Linked DNA regions of Homo sapiens: regions 1 and 2 are each linked to region 3. Evidence: promoter capture Hi-C in 16 types of primary human blood cells and fetal thymus (Javierre and others, 2016). All regions are on one chromosome and are shown on one strand. The core of a region is centred on a gene start or on the middle of the fragment in contact, and the rest is flanking DNA. Distances in the headings are between cores, read along the strand shown.

Region 1 (3,302 bases), core at 472-2,971, 300 kb before region 3:
TGAACCGCGTTACTAATGAGTGATGAGCCACACATGCATCCAAGCCATTTCATAAGTAATTAGTTGTGTGGCACTGACTAGATGCTCCCCAGTCATTTGTTTCATTTCTCTACATTATCTCTCTTCCTTTGGGCTTGCTTGTGAATCAAGCTTCAGGTACAAATGATGAATGAACTAATGACAACACTAATAACAGCCAGACTAATAACCATACTGCTGATGGTGACAATGCCAATTAGGAGAGTGCTAACAGCGACAGACTCTTCTGCTGGGTGCAACTGTTCATCTGTGGAAGGCCACAAGCAGGTGTCCAAGGCAAAGGAGAGCCAGGGAAGTGCAAATAGCACCAAAGGCAAAGGCAGAGACTCATTTTTTAAAAAAATACTAACTACATTTATGGGAGATTTAAAAAGCACATATTGTGGGTACACAAAATCTAAGACATGAGCTCATTGACTGAGAGGATGAGAAGAGGGAAATCATTCAGTCTAAGGAGCTGAGCAGAGCTCAGTCACCATGTACTGGGAGCCCCTTTTCCAGATAGAAGGGACCCATCCACCTGTGGGCCCTGGAGCTGAATCCCGATGAGATCCAGGTGTCCCTCTGCGTGTCACCTGAAGGCAACTGACACACCAGGCAATCCAGACAAATCAATAGGCACGAAGATGACGGAAGTAAAAATGGGCAGTGGAGAATGCAATGGTGGACCCGGGGTATCCTGCATGGAGACCCTCGAGTCTACATCAGTGGAACGGGCAGCATGGGGTGCCCCTTGCCGCTGCTGTGGGGTGAGGGCCCTGGCAAAGGGTAGGGGGAAGGCTGCCCCGGGGCTTTCCTTAGCCCCCTGACCCAATCAGCCACTTCTAGGAGAACAGTGCACTGTTCATATCAAGGCTGCTGATCAAGTGGTTAGGATCAGCAGGTTCCTTGATATTGTAAGTGGAGTAGCCTCCATGAGCTTTTAGAAGTGCCTTTTACTAGAAGATACACAAAGTTGTGGGTATTTGGGCAGAGATCTCAGGGTTGTGTTGTTTCTGAATAAAATCCCTATGAAGAAATTTAGGATATCAGAGTTGGCAAAACAGTTGCAAACCCTGCAAACAAACCTCCAGGTGCTGCTGCAGTGTAGGCTTGTCGCCCAGAGCCTCCCACGCAGTGGCTTCTGAGCACCTTCCCCAGACTTTCCAAAACAGACGCCAGTATTCATAAAGAACTCAGATAGCAGGACACCACCTGGAAGTGGCATCAACTCCATAGGTAAACTGCAGGCTTGCTAAGCCCTTCATAACCCCAAAGGCACGTTATAATAGAGAAATGAAATGCTCTACCACAGTCAAAAAAGGTTAGGCTGTGTCCTAAACCGTGATGACTGCATGTTTTGTTTAGCAGATTCTCATGTATTCTCATTGTGTTTAGCAGATTCTCATGTATTCTATTTCCAATGAGCAAAAATCATACCTAAAATTGTTTTAGGCCATTCTAGTTCAGATCAGTAACATACCAAAATGAATGTGGAACCCTTCAGATTGTAACCCACATCTTTCAGTCTGGTTAATTATTTATGTGGACCTGAGCATTCTATATTCCATCAACATGGAGACCAAGTAATGGTGGATTACCAGTTTCCACTTCTAGCTGGGCCAGCCTCCTGGGATGTGAGGTCCCAAATCACTGCTGCCCAAACCACTGGGCCCTAATGCAAGTTGTGTTCCAGCAAGACAGTCTCCTGCCTAAACTCCATGCCTCCCCTTTCCCCAATGTCACATTTTGCCATCACAAAGAAGCCGCCAGTCTTACCTGCCCAGCAAAGAGCCCACAGACACCAATGATGCACAGGATGTTGAATACCGCTGAGCCCACGATGGTGCCAACTCCCACATCGCCTTTGGTGATGAAGACCCCTGAAACACAGATCCCACATCAGCCTGGCTGTTGTGGCCCTGTTGCATTCCAAGGTGGGCATGGGGAACCTTTCATAAGCATTAGATTGTTCTCAGAATCTACAGGAAACAGCTGAGGGGTGGAGAGAGCTTTCTAATCTACAGAGGGATGATAGCTGCACAGGAGTGTGATGGGCTTGGGGTCTGGGACAAGTTCATGCACAGTAAAAGCATCACTTAAATAAAACAACAACGGCAGATGGGAGGCTGATGTTCTACTCATTGGGGTCCCTGGATTATCATTTTCTATGAGTGGCAGACAATCTCGGTCTGGGGGCCATCCATTCCCAGAGCCCTTTTCCTTCAGACAGTGAAGGTCTGAGATGTCCCTCAGTCTGTCACCTACCTATGACCGATGTGAACAGCTCTGGGGCCGAACTTCCCGCTGCCATGAATGTGGCCCCAGCCACATCTTCACTGAGGTGCAGGCGCTACAGAGGAGCAAAGACAAAGCACAGGTGAGTTGGGATTCCATCTCGGAAGAGAGGTGACTGTGACACCCGAGAGTCCAAGCCCTGAGAAGCAAAGACTGGGGCTTCAGCGAGAGTAGGACCGATGGGACCTGGGGCTGGTACTTAGTCCCTCTCAGCCTCCTTCTCCTTCTCACAGAGCGCAGCCACTGCTGCCGATCCCCTGCTGAGTCAGAGCTCCTCTCAATGTCCTCCTTAAGGGACAGGTTTGGGGAGGGAACTACATGTCCTTATGAGCTAAAGGCTCTTGGGAAGATCTAGGGGTCTTCAACCCAATTCCCGCAGGGGCTGTGCAGATGACAGTCAGGAGTGGAGTGGGCCCATGGGAGGCCACAGCAGGCGGTAGGTCTGAGGCTATGGTGGGGGCATTCACCTCTTTCTATGGGCAGCATTGCCCAGTTCCCTCAGTGTGGCCAGATATTCTGATTTTTAAGAGATGCCAATAATCCAACCTTTTATGCAAAACTTCCTGATTTTTGTGATACTATGCTGATCTCAGGCTAAATGACGCTCATGGTAACCAGTTTGTGAGTCTTTAGGAGGTTATGGAGGCATGTTGGGGTGTGGATGTGGGGATCACCCTCCTGAAACCCACTCCCCTTCCTTGAGGCATTCTGGAAACCCCGGGATCAGAGAGTGGGAGTGGGGGCTTAAGGCTGAAAAGAAGGTAATGAGGCATCAGCCCTGCCAAGACGGGGTTTATACAATGAGCTCTCCAGGTTACTCTGTTTGTTAAACCAAAAGGTGATTTACAAGAAGACAAGGCAATTATACATTAGAGGCTGGTAACCAGATTTTGCATTTCTGCATTCAGTCATGACCCAGAAAGTATGCTGCTGGCTGCCAGTGAATAGCCAGTTCCCTCCTGGCAGTCAAGCTTGAGTGACATCCT
Region 2 (3,156 bases), core at 560-3,059, 320 kb before region 3:
GTAAAGAATGGTTGCATTGAGATTTTAGCTTCAAAAGCAAAACATGTGAACCTAATGTTTTCTTAAAAATTTAGGTTCTAATGAAAACACATGGACACAGGGAGGGGAACAACACACACCGGGGCCTGTTGGAGGTGGGGGGCAAGGGGAGGGAGAGCATTAGGACAAATACCTAATGCATGCGGGGCTTAAAACCTAGATGACAGGTTGATAGCAGCAAACCACCATGGTACATGTATACCTATATAACAAAAGCCTGCACAGTCTGCACATGTATCCTGGAACTTAAAGTAAAATTAAAAAATAAATAAATACATACATAAAAATAAATACTAAAAAATTAAGATTTCTCTATTGTGGTAGGACAGAAATAAAAGTCTTTATAACTGAAAAAAAAAAATCAGGTTATAAGAGCAACCATGTCCTGCCACCAAGTTAATTGTTCCTTGGTGTAATTTCCCCATAAAATGGTAGAAGAACATAAGATAATAACCCCCTCCTTCGTATTTCATTTTCCTGCATGGTCATAAAGAGAGTTTGGGGAAAAACATTCAAGAGTTTCATCAAGTTTTCCAAGTCTCCATCCTGATCCTTTAATATTAGTATCATTTTCTTTGGGGGGATAGAGAACCTGGGTTGTCATCCTTGACTTTTTTTCTTCCTCAATTGCAGGAGCCTCCTTCATTAATGCCTTTGTACGTGGGATGGAGACATCATTCAACACGTCTGCCTCATGAAACCCTCTATCTCTGCCAGATTTTCAGTTTCAGTTTGCAGTCAGTTTGTATTTTTATGGGAATGTTACAATTTCCAACAAATGGCCAAAAATTGGCTTATGTAATGAATGGGGAGAGATGCTATTGTTAAGCAGGAAAAAAAGTAGGAGGGGGCCTAGGTTTTTAAAGCGGTCAGATCATTAGTGAATATTGTGTGTTTTGACAAGTTTGCTTTCCTATGCAACCTGCCAACAGCAGTGATTCAGATAATGAATGCTGAACTTAGATCAACGAAGAACCTCTGCCTCCATTATACATTACACCCTCCTTTTTGACAACTTAAAAAACATATTATTATTCTTTTTAAAAGCCTTATTGTGACACGGTCATTCTATAGAAACAACCAAAGCATACATGAAAAATGGAGCAAGTATTGCTAATCTGCAAAGAAAAGTTATTTACCTAGTTATGCTTCTCATAGAACTGTGTGTCCTAAATGAGAAGACACCAGCAAATGGTACAGATATTAAAGGACTGACTTTAACTCATGTTGTAGAATGATGCATTGGGATCTTGAAGTCTGTACAATCCATTTGGTAATCATTTACCAACCAGTAACTTCACATTTCTTGTGGTCTTTAATATGTATTTAAATCTTATGTTGCTAATTAACAGTCATCTGTGTATGTATTTTTCTATACACTCTTACTCCATATCATCATCACCAAAGAAAGCAAATACCAGAACAATCAATTCAGACGAACAAGTTTAGGAGTCTATTAAAGACTATCATCGGCCCACACCAATATCAAGATAAAACCGAAAGATTGCTATGGCAGTTCAAAGAAGAGAAGATTGTGTCCACCTGGGGAAACCAGGGAAGGCTTCTTGCAGGAGGTGACACAGACTACAGATTTGAAGGACAAAAATGACTTGCACTTTTAAAATTGGGAGATGGGTTGAAGTGAACAGAGATGAAAAAGGGCATTCTGGTTAGGAAGAACAACATAAGCACAAGCACACAGGTAAGACAACAAAGGTAAGACACAACGAGCAGTTCAGTTCTGCTGTAGATATGGACAGGGGAAAGACAGCTAGACATGAGAAAGGGCTACTGGGATGTGACCAGCAAAGGGGGCCTTTCAGGCAAGAGGCAACGTCAGAGTGGAGGCTCAGGAAGCCTTATCAGTATGAAAATGAATTTGATGGAGCAGAGGATAAAGAACAGAGAGACAGGGGTGAGGGGACTTTGGCAGTCCAGTTGACCAAGAGTGGAGGTCTGGAGTGTATGGTGCAGTGGACTTGGAAAGCAAGGGGCAGGATGAGAAATGCTACAGTGGAAGAATTGATTAGATTTGACAGCAGTCTGGATGTGGACAGTCGGCCATGAAGCTGAGGCTTAAAGGCTGAGTGACAGAAACCACAAAGGTGCACCCAATGTACCAGAAGAACTCAGGTGAAATGGTACATTAATGAGCAAGTAATTTAGTTCATAGCTTAGACCCCCAATTGGAGCCTGCCTCAGAAGGCCCGGGCTGGAAAGATCTGGCACCCATTTGTAAACTAAGTCATGAGGATGGGAGAAAAATCAAGACCAAGGATGAGGAGTGGGGTGCCAGAGGAGGGGACTGATGTCATGAGATCAGATGAGACCATCCCTTTTGAAGGAGGTGTGGCCAAGAGCATCTCTGTGGGAGAAGGAATGCTACCATTTGGGGTGAGAAAAGAGGGGTTTCAGGAGGAAGAAAGCATTCCATAGAGTACAGCAGGTGGAGAGGATGCACAGTGAGATTGTTCACTGGATTGGTGTCCAGGAAAAAGAACTATGGGGAGTCTAAAGAATCAGTTTCAATTGGGGATCAGGGCAGGAGAAGGAGGCAAGTCCCATGTTATGGGTTCTCAAAGGACGTCTGTGAACTGACTCATATTTCTGGTGGCTTCCTTGAAGATAAACATCTAAACTCATTCACACGTCCAACCCTCTTCTATGCCTACATTCTCTTCCTTAATTCACAGAGGGGCCTGAGGGGCTGCAGAGGGACAAGGGTTGACAGGTGTACCAAGTGTGAGGCATGGCTTGGCCGCACACTGTCCACATATACACTGGAATGACCAAAGCAGAACAGTGGGGTTCAAGTCCTAGTTTGATAGTTCTTCACTGTGTGGACTTGCACAGGCCACACCCTGTTCTGACCACCAGTTCATTCACCTGCAAAATGAGGGATTGGACCTCCTGCTTTCTGACATCCTTCTATGCCATGGGCATTCTCCTCTGGTTCATGACCTTCCCTGGCCTTCTTCCCTCTGCATTCTCAGTCCTATAAGTCCCTGCTTTTCTCATCTCCCTCCTACATATGAGGGATTCACAAATGCTTCCTATTTATATTTATGCACAAAGAAGCGGTTACTTCCCTGAGTTTAAAAATTCACTCATCAAAGT
Region 3 (3,424 bases), core at 383-2,882:
AATAGCTGACCTGTAGGCACTCCTGGCCATCCCCATAGGGCAGTGCCCTGCCAGCCTGACTTTGGTCTTGAAACACAGGCCAAGCATCCTCTTCACTTTTCGAGGCCTTAGGCCCAGCTAAGCCAGACAGAGTGGGATGATCCTTTATCAAGGGAAATCCAGTGATCTCACAGTGAAGCCCACACCAAAGGCCATCATTTTAAATATTTTCCTTCTTCCAAAGTTTATTTGGAAAAAGCACTCTGAGGAAAAGCTCATTTCCTTAAAATATCAAGGAACCAAAAACCAAAAGATGATATATTTTTCTGGAGACACACTGCAAAGTGTATAAATAAAATTCTGTAAAGTGCACAAATAAATATTACAAAGAATTCATTTCTGCTACAGTTGTCTACCATCTTCAATATTACATTTAGCTAACTTAATTTTCCATGGATCAAATTATTCAAAGTTAAATTTCTCTTAATAGGTCATCTGAGTAAACAATTTCAAGTGTTACTTGCCAAAAGAAAAAAAAAAAAATGTTTCCAGGCTTCAGATGAAGTCGGCAGTGTCAGGCTAAGAAAACAACCTTAAAAATTCACAGAGAGCTGGAACAATTGCAAAGAAAAGTTGGAGCCCGGAGGTCAGTCAGTCTTGTTCATGCAGTTCTGAAGGTAGAAAAAAAAAAAAAAATCACAAATTTCTACCAAAACTAGGTCTTCAAGGGGCAAAGGAAAAATGCCTTTTTTTTTTTTTTTTTTTTTTTTTGAGACAGGGTCTCATTCTGTCACCCAGGCTGGAGTGCAGTGGAGTGATCTCAGCTCACTGCAACCTCCATCTCCCAGGCTCAGTTGATCCTTCCACCTCAGCCCCCCAAGTAGCTGGGACCACAGACTCACACCACCACGACTGGCTAACTTTTGTACATTTTATAGAGATGGGGTTTCACCATGTTGCCCAGGCTGGTCCCGAACTCCTGGCCTCAAGTAATCCACCCGCCTTGGGCTCCCAAAGTGCTGGGATTATAGGCGTGAGTCACCGCGCCCAGTGCCATTTTTTTGAAAGCAGAAAATGTATAAAGTAATATATCCTTAAAGTAGCAGCTGTCATCAGAAGACAGCACCCTGGGCTTTCTCTGGCACCAAAACTGGGCACTCTGTGCTCCTGGTTTTCAGACAGAGAGAAAGGGAGAAGGCAGGGCAGAGGGAAGGGGAGGAGGGGAGAGGGAGTAGAGGAAGGCTTGAGGTATGGCATGGAATTCTGCAAACACAGCAGTTATTAAGGGAAATGGGAGAGTGTCAAGGGGAAGAAGTTTTCTTGAATTTCTATTCTTGAAATTTCTTGGAATAAATGGATGTGTGCAAGGGAAGGGATAAATGTAGTTGAAGATCTATTTTGTAGGTGAGGAAATGGTAATCTGAGAGGCAAACCAGAATCATGCCCCAACAGGGAATATAACCAGAATAGAGGTAACTCTGTCTCCAGTCTCTGAATCTACAGGCTTCCTCTAATAGCATCTAAAGCCAGGGCTTCTGACAGCACAGTCTGAGAAGCCCCATGACATCACAAGTGGCAGCTGGGTGTACTTTATGACAAATGCCAAATTAACTCCTGCCTGTGACCTTGCCACCATAACTCAGACAGCCAGGACACACACTGCACCCCAAACACTCAAGTCCCTGTGTAAATCTTCACTCCTCCAAGCACAGAGGGAAGCCTGCTCCGTAGGCTCTGTTAAGTGTACTGCTGCCGCTGACATCATCATAAATAGGAAGGGAGAGAGTCCAGGAACCACAGGGCTCACTTCCTAGCCTCTCTATTTAAGATTTTCGAGGGCAGATGGCACTATATTTAACCAGCACAAGTAGTATTCATTGTGCCCAGGGCCTCTTAAGGAAAACTGAACAAAGTTTTAGAATGAACCTGCCCTCACCTCACTCCTGCTCAACCATTTCACCCAACAACAAGTTAGAGGCAGAGAAGATGAATATTATTAAAATGATGCTTCTAAATCAGGACCTTATGGGTGCTTTGGCTCTCAACTTTTTTCATAAAATATCTGTCCAGTCCAGACCGAGGAGCCAGCTTCGACAGCATTCTGGTAAGGGCATGGAGGTAACCAGGGCTCACATGTGTCTGTGGCAATGTTCTGATCCTGTTGTTAGAAATAGTCAATGCAGCAGAGATGATGGCATTCATTGCCAAGCCTGAGGTCTTCAGGGCTTGCCTACATGGGAAGATGGTACTGAAGCCTCCTGTCTAGATGACGGTCTGTTTAGACCTGAGCTACCTGCGGTGTGGCCTGCTGACAGACTCGCTCTGCAGGGAGTAGCTGGAGAATGTTGCTCTAGGAATCTTGCACTGTGCCCCACCCGTAATGATGCCCCAGGACAGAGGGTGGGAAATTCACGAATACACTCCTACTACAGTGCCATCAAACCCAGGGCACTAAGCTGTCCACACTTTATTAGTAATTCTCACAGCAATCATGAAAGATCAGAATGATGATGTCAACTTCTAGAGAAGCACACAGAGACTCTGAGAACCTGGCTATTTGGCCAAAGTCCACAGCTTCAGGTCAGTGTGACTCTAAGACCCGGGGTAGAGATAAGGCCCTCAGATTTACATATTTGCTCTACACCCTTGAGATGTTTGCAATTGGGCTGGAAAGACAGGAGATACATCCAAAGACAACTGCAAGTTCTGACCACCCTGTCCAATAGCTCTTTCTGTGATGATGGAAATGTTTTGGGACCTGTGCTGTCATCTGTGATCCAACTATCGAGTATTTGACATGTAGTTGGTGCAACTGAGAATCTGAATATTTAATTTTAGTTGGTTTGAATTCACTTGAATTGAAATTGCCATTGAATGTCCATATTTAACAGCACATGTGGAGACATTTTATACCAGCAGCAGTCAGAAAAGAATGCTGCAGTCTGGGGTGGTCCAAGCAAGCTTCATGAAGCACGTGGGCTCTGACCCAGCCCTTGATGTGTTAGGATTTGAACAGAACTTCTCCTGTTTCAGGCATGATCATCTTCCTTGTGGAATTTGGTTCTGAATCAAGGGCCTCAGAAACCAAGCCCGGTTCTTTTGGTCTGCAGGTAAGGAAATCAAGATTGTCCCTCCTGGATCCATATTCCCTTTGGACCTGCTTTTCGCAGCATGACTCAGCTTGCTTTTGCTTCCTCCCATATTCCTCCTGAAGCCTTTCCTCTCCTCCCTTTCCCTGTGTGGCCCCTGCCAACACAGGCAGATCCCGGGTTCACGTTCTTTTTATCTACCTAGACATTTTCTTTTCTATCTGTGAGGCTGAGTTATTTCCACTCTTGGAATGACTTTGAATGTGCTTTATGCTTCTACATCTGTCACTCTGAGAACGGTATTTCCCAATACAGTGAGCAATGCTACTCACAGAGAGACCAACCACCTGCCCCCA

Evidence for each region. Contacts are between HindIII fragments. The CHiCAGO score rates a contact against its expected background, and 5 or more counts as called.
Region 1: a fragment that was not itself captured here is called in contact with the fragment with the promoter of SLC24A3-AS1 in region 3 in 4 of 17 cell types (megakaryocytes, M0 macrophages, M2 macrophages and 1 more); the score reaches 8.5 in megakaryocytes.
Region 2: a fragment that was not itself captured here is called in contact with the fragment with the promoter of SLC24A3-AS1 in region 3 in 1 of 17 cell types (M2 macrophages); the score reaches 5.7 in M2 macrophages.

The regions. Positions count from the first base shown.
Region 1 is chr20:19,584,040-19,587,341 of GRCh38, reverse strand. SLC24A3 (solute carrier family 24 member 3) reads right to left here. Exons shown (of 17, transcript NM_020689.4): 5 at 2,287-2,371; 6 at 1,798-1,901. Among named protein-coding and RNA genes, the nearest start is that of RIN2, 170 kb to the left of the region's middle. The HindIII fragment of the contact is 3,137 bases long and covers 153-3,289 here.
Region 2 is chr20:19,606,555-19,609,710 of GRCh38, reverse strand. All of the region lies in intron 6 of SLC24A3 (solute carrier family 24 member 3), which reads right to left. Among named protein-coding and RNA genes, the nearest start is that of RIN2, 150 kb to the left of the region's middle. The HindIII fragment of the contact is 4,367 bases long and covers 1-3,156 here.
Region 3 is chr20:19,282,804-19,286,227 of GRCh38, reverse strand. It overlaps SLC24A3-AS1 (SLC24A3 antisense RNA 1), which reads left to right and starts at 1,632. Exons shown (of 8, transcript NR_024564.1): 1 at 1,632-2,083; 2 at 3,013-3,089. All of the region lies in intron 2 of SLC24A3 (solute carrier family 24 member 3), which reads right to left. The HindIII fragment of the contact is 4,681 bases long and covers 1-2,942 here.